Linked DNA regions of Homo sapiens: region 1 is linked to region 2. The links are contacts of gene promoters, found by promoter capture Hi-C in blood cells and fetal thymus (Javierre and others, 2016). All regions are on one chromosome and are shown on one strand. Each heading gives the region's core, a stretch centred on a gene start or on the middle of the fragment in contact. The rest is flanking DNA. Distances are from core to core; before and after follow the strand shown.

Evidence for each region. Contacts are between HindIII fragments. The CHiCAGO score rates a contact against its expected background, and 5 or more counts as called.
Region 1: a contact is called between a fragment that was not itself captured here and the fragment with the promoter of DCTN6 in region 2, in 2 of 17 cell types (M0 macrophages and naive B cells). The highest score is 10.7, in M0 macrophages.

The regions. Positions count from the first base shown.
Region 1 is chr8:29,337,849-29,340,888 of GRCh38, reverse strand. DUSP4 (dual specificity phosphatase 4) reads left to right here. Exons shown (of 4, transcript NM_001394.7): 2 at 646-791; 3 at 2,388-2,607. Among named protein-coding and RNA genes, the nearest start is that of DUSP4, 11 kb to the left of the region's middle. RefSeq lists an enhancer at 383-677. The HindIII fragment of the contact is 1,897 bases long and covers 424-2,320 here.
Region 2 is chr8:30,154,924-30,157,755 of GRCh38, reverse strand. It overlaps DCTN6 (dynactin subunit 6), which reads right to left and starts at 1,387. Exons shown (of 7, transcript NM_006571.4): 1 at 1,350-1,387. The coding sequence starts at 1,372. It overlaps DCTN6-DT (DCTN6 divergent transcript), which reads left to right and starts at 1,096. Exons shown (of 1, transcript NR_186490.1): 1 at 1,096-1,927. LOC124901927 (a long non-coding RNA gene) reads left to right here. Exons shown (of 2, transcript XR_007060880.1): 2 at 1-584. RefSeq lists a silencer at 1,017-1,126 and enhancers at 1,187-1,336, 1,280-2,262, 2,087-2,296. The HindIII fragment of the contact is 1,330 bases long and covers 171-1,500 here.

The DNA of each region.
Region 1 (3,040 bases), core at 123-2,622, 820 kb after region 2:
CATTCCAGGGCTTACCCACTCTCAGGTCAGGAAATACTCCCTTGCCCCAAACCTGTACATAGCATGAGGGGTTTATTTAGATTTAAGCCCGTTTTCCTCTTGTTCTGGTCTCTTGGTGACGGAACAGCTATTCATGAGGACGTGCAATGGACATCTGTTCCATTGCTGAGATCCAGAAGAGTTTGTACCAGGGTCATTTTTTCCCTTCTTTCTCACATTGGAGAACCTCCCCTGAGGAAGGGCTGGAATCAGGGGTGGCAGGTGTCTCTACAGGTACTTAGTGTCCTTGGAAGCCCAGCGTGACCTTTGCTTCTCTATTTTGTCATTGTCCTGAGGAGCTACTCCACAGTCACTTCTGCACATCCCCCTGCACGTCTTCCTTTGTATGTCTACCTCTCTAACCCAAGTCTTGTCCATAAAGCTTATCCTTCCAGCTTTGCTGCAGTCCTGACGAGTGTGTCCTCTGCATCTCTGGAAACCACTCCATGGCCATTCTCTAGGTCCACAGCGCCACCTAGTGGCCAATATGGAGCACGCCAGCCCCTGCCTTCCTAGCAGTCCGCCTGAGTCTGTAGGAGTCGAGTTCTTTCTGACTTCCTGCTGGCTTAGTGACCCCATTAACCTGAGCTTCTTTCTCCTTTACAGGCGGCTATGAGAGGTTTTCCTCCGAGTACCCAGAATTCTGTTCTAAAACCAAGGCCCTGGCAGCCATCCCACCCCCGGTTCCCCCCAGTGCCACAGAGCCCTTGGACCTGGGCTGCAGCTCCTGTGGGACCCCACTACACGACCAGGTAGACTCGGGGGGCAGGGCTTGGAAGTGGGGGGCAGGAACAGCGTAGGGGCCAGTGGATGCCTTCTTTTCAGAGTTCTGACGGTGTTTTTTGTCTTTGCTTTTGAGACAGTCTTGCTCTGTCACCCAGGAGTGCAGTGGTGTGATCATAGCTTACTGCAGCCTCGAACTCCTGGGCTCAAGGGATCCTCCCTGGTAGCTGGGACTACAGGTGGCACTACCATGCCTGGCTAATTTTAAAAGGTTTTTGGTAGAGATGGGGGGGGGGGGTCTTGCTATGTTGCCCAGGCTGGTCTTGAACTCCTGGCCTCAAGTGATCCTCCTGCTTTGGCCTCCCAAAGTGTTGGGATCACAGGCGTGAGCCACTGCATCCAATCCTGAGATTTTTTTAAGTCTTTGAATGTTATGCCTCAATTTGGGGAGAATGCGGTGAACCCGGAGTATTGGGGTGGGATGTTAGGTAGGACCTATTTACTTCTTGGAAATCTTCCCCTTCCCTCTCTAAATATCCTCCTAAGAAAAAAGTCTAAAGACATGACTCCCTGGCTTGGCCTCTAACGTCGTGTCCGGACAAGTGAGGAGGCCTCCAGAAGCCCTGGGGGACCTGCTCTCTGGGAAGCTGAGGTCATTCTCCTCTGAAGTAGCAGGCCATGAAATACATCTCAGTCCCCGACAGGCAGGCTGCTCCCACGTATCAGCCGAATGAACATAGATGGTCACCCACCCTCCCTCCAAGAAAACCTGCTTGAGCCACTGTGTTTCTTATAAGCCCACCCTCCAGCCCTTTCAGTTAGATGGACTCTGCTGCCCACATCTCATGTGCTAAATTTAAGCCACTGTTGCCTCATTTTGCCAAGATCCTCTCTCTTGTCTGTGTGGCCATGAGGGCATCAGCTTATTTATTTGTTTATTTTTAGAGACAGAGTCTCACTCTGTTACCCAGGCTTGAGTCCTGTGGCGCAATCATAGCTCACTGCAGCTTCAAAGTCCTGGGCTCAAATGATCCTCCCATTTCAGCCTCCCAAGCAACTGAGACTACAGGTGTGCACCATCATGCCAGCTTCATTGTTTGAGAGATGAGGTCTCACTGTGTTGCCCATGCTGGTCTTGGAACTCCTGGCTCACATGATCCTGCCACCTCAGCCTCCTAAAGTGCTGAGATTACAGGTGTGAGCCACTGCACACCTGTTTTTGATATGCCCAGTGAATACATATCAAAACAAATAAGTATCTAAACCACACAGCAAATGGCTTGATGATTAGCAGATATAAACTCAGTGTCACAGATGGTGCCATAAGGCCGGCATTGTCCTGCCGCTTATTTTGCCATGGGGGAGGTGCAGGAGAGTCCCACAAGACTTTACCTGCCCTGGCCTCTCTGCTCACAAGTAGAGGGCAAAGGCTGGAGAAGTCCCACTGGGCCTATCACCCCTCCAAGAGTTCCAGGAGGCTACAGGGGGAGGCTGGGAGGGCCAGGCCCAGCAGGCATTCTCCCTGGGTTTGGAAAGGAAAGCTCTTCTCAGACAAGCTTCCACTCCCTGTGCCAAGCACTTTACCCTCATGTCATTCAGGGGCCTTTGTTTCCCTTTCTGTGCAGGGGGGTCCTGTGGAGATCCTTCCCTTCCTCTACCTCGGCAGTGCCTACCATGCTGCCCGGAGAGACATGCTGGACGCCCTGGGCATCACGGCTCTGTTGAATGTCTCCTCGGACTGCCCAAACCACTTTGAAGGACACTATCAGTACAAGTGCATCCCAGTGGAAGATAACCACAAGGCCGACATCAGCTCCTGGTTCATGGAAGCCATAGAGTACATCGGTAGGCTGGCCCTGCTCTGGGGTTCCTGGGTTTGAGGGCGGGTGGGAAGGATAAGGAACCCCTGTAAGCCTGGGTTGAAGGTGGACATTGGAGGCACTGAATCCAAGGGTCCCCATTCCCCCTCTTCCTCATTGGGAAGGCTTATACATTGGATGTTGGGTTGGGAGGGAGGAGGGAAGATGGACCTACACACAGGCTTAGCTTGCAGAGCCAGTCCCCTTCCCCTTGCATGGCTTCAGTGCCTAGATGGTAAGAGTTTTTGGACGGGGAGGAAGACACAAGGAGCATTGAGTCATAGTTTTTATTTTATTTCTATTTATTTATTTATTTTGAGACAGAGCCTTGCTCTGTTGCCCAGGCTGGAGTGCAGTGGCGCCATCTCAGCTCACTGCAACCTCCGCTTCTGGGGTGCAAGTGATTCTCCTGCCTCAGC
Region 2 (2,832 bases), core at 138-2,637:
CTGTTCGAAATGGCTTTACTTATGCACTTGTCTCATCCCAGCCACCAACAGCCACCAACAGCCCCCAGCAATGAAGACTACCGGAGAAGAAGCCAAACTTCCTGTCCCCACATGTTTACAAAGGAGCTTGTCCACTCCACGCCTGGCAAAAAATGTCACAGTTCTAAGCTTATACACTATTGGTGGGAATATAAATTAGTTCATCTATTGAAAATAGTATGGTGATTTCTCAAAGGACTAAACACAAGTACCATTGGACCCAGCAATCCATATAGAGCTACCAATCCAAACGGAACTACCATTCGACCCAGGATCTACTCAAAGGAAACCATTGTATTAAAAAGACAACTGCACTCCTATGACTATCACTGTACTATTCACAATAGCAAAGTATGGAATCAACCTAAGTGTTCATCAACGGATGACTGGATAAAGGAAATGTGGTGTATCTATACGATGGAATACTACAGAGCCATCAAAAAGAAAGGAAACATGTCTTTTGCAACAACATGGATGGAACTGGAGGCCATTACCTTACGCGATAACTCAGAAATAAAATCAAATGCACATGTTCTCACTTTTAAGTGGGAGCTAAAATGAGTACACATAAACATAAAGAGGGAAATAACAGACACTGGGGACTCTAAAAGCAGCGAGGGTAGGAGGGGTTTGAGGGCTGAAAAATTACCCATCTGATACAATGTTCACTATTTGGGTGGTAAGTACACTAGAAGCCAACTTCACCATTACGCAATTTATCTATGCAACAAATCTGCGCAAGTACTCCTTGCATCTATATAATGTGTGTGTGTGTGTGTCACAGTTCAAGTCCAGGCGCGGCCCCCCTTTTGACAGCGACCGTAAATCCCTTTACACACCCCACCCTCCAGAGACAGGAAGGGCCTGGGGTGCGGCCAGCACTGGCGTGGGGGTCTCGCAACATGCAGCAGAGAATCCAGCGCCAAGCCGTGGGGTACAGCGGCGCCAAGCACCGCCGATTATGCGGGAGAAGGGAGCCGGCCTTCCCCAGGAAAAAGCTGACGTCACCCTCCCCTCACAGCCCCCCCCGCCCTCCCGGCCGGGAGACCCCCTCTGCGCAGGCGCATGTGGGGAGGGACGGCCAGACAGGAACAAAAACCTTCCAGGCAGCGACTCCGCGTCCCTTCTCAACCCTCCCCGCCCCCACTCCGTCGCCCCCTCCCTCAGTGGACGCCAGGTCTGGGCTTCAGGTACCTTCGGCCCGAATGCCCAGGATGAGACACCTTCTGAGTCGCCACCATTGGCGACCAGGAACAGGTTCCACCCCTACGGAAAGCTGAGAAAAGGCTTTTCTCAAGCAGCAAACCCACCTCTTTTGAGTCTTCTCCGCCATGGTACGGCCCCAATTGGAACGTAGATCGACACCACCGCCTGGGTAGAGCGATAATTCCACATGCGATTGGAGAGCCTGGCAGGGTTGGGGGAGGGGCGGAGCCGGGGTGGGGCGGGGACCCGGAAGCTTGCGACTCTTGTTTGCGTCGCGTCTGGGCGCACAGGACTGTACTTTTGGTAGCGGTGCGGGGCCGCCCGCGGACTTTAGCCCTGCATAGAGATGGGTAGACCCTAATTTGGAACAGCCATTGACTGGGCACAGGCCAGCACTTTGGGAGGCCGAGAGGCCGAGGCAGGAGGATCGCTTGAGGCCAGGAGTGCCAGACTGCGAGACTAGCCTGGGTAACATAGTGAGACCCTCTCTTCAAAAAAAAAAAAAAAAAAAAAAAAAAAAAGCCTGTCACGGTGGCCTGCGCCTGTACCCCAGCTACTCGAGAGGATCGCCTGAGCCCAGTGAAGCTGCAGCGAGCTGTGAGGATGCCACCGCACTCCGGCCTGGGCTAAAAAGCTAGATCGTGTCTCTGATAAAAGAATAAAAGCTGTTTATTGCAATCCAGTCCGCGTCATTATGCCCTCATTTTACCCACTCGCGTAGGCGTAATTACACCCTAAAGGTATTTCTCTGACCTCGCCGATGTCCTTTTCAGCCTGTCTTTCTCTACTCATTAGGGCTCCTTCTGGCCCTTTTCTCGCTCTATATGAGTGCATCCTTCCTATAGGTTAAGTGCCCTCTACCTGTTTGCTCTCTAATGAATGTCTCTGGTTCTGCCCTCTGTGCCGATCTTCACACCTGACATTCGGTTGACTAATTGACATCTCCGCTCAGAGTCGTATCGAACCTAAAACTTACAGAACATGACTTTCGATTAACACTGCCGTCCTCCCTGCAACCTGCTGCTTTTTTGATCCACACCATTTGCCTAGCTGCTCAAGCCAGACACTCAAGAGTCACCCTGGCACTCCTCACCCCTACATCTGTAATAGATCTGCAAGTTCTGCTTGTCCTACCTCGGGTCTCATGCTTACACTTTTGTCTACCGGACCATCTCTCTAATCTCAGCCGATGTGTCTCTCCCAGTTGTTCACTCATTCTGTACTTGGCCTCTGAAATCACACCTCCTCATCTCCCACCCCCAACCCTGATCCAAGTAGTTCTCTTGTAGTCAAAATCATCCTTTAAAAGACAAATTGAGGCCAGGCGCGTGGCTCAAACCGGTAATCCCAGCACTTTGGGGGGCCGAGATGGGAGGATCGCTTGAGGCCAGGAGTTGGAGACCAGCCTGGTCAACACAGCATGATCCCGTCTCTATATATTTTTTCTATAATGTATTTTTTTAATGGAAAAAAATTAAAAATAAGAGCCAAATTCAGTTATTTCCCCTTCCTCTTAAAATCTAAAATCCAAACTGCTTTCCATAACCTATCTCTGAGCTACATCCAGCCCCTGCCTACTTCTCTCTT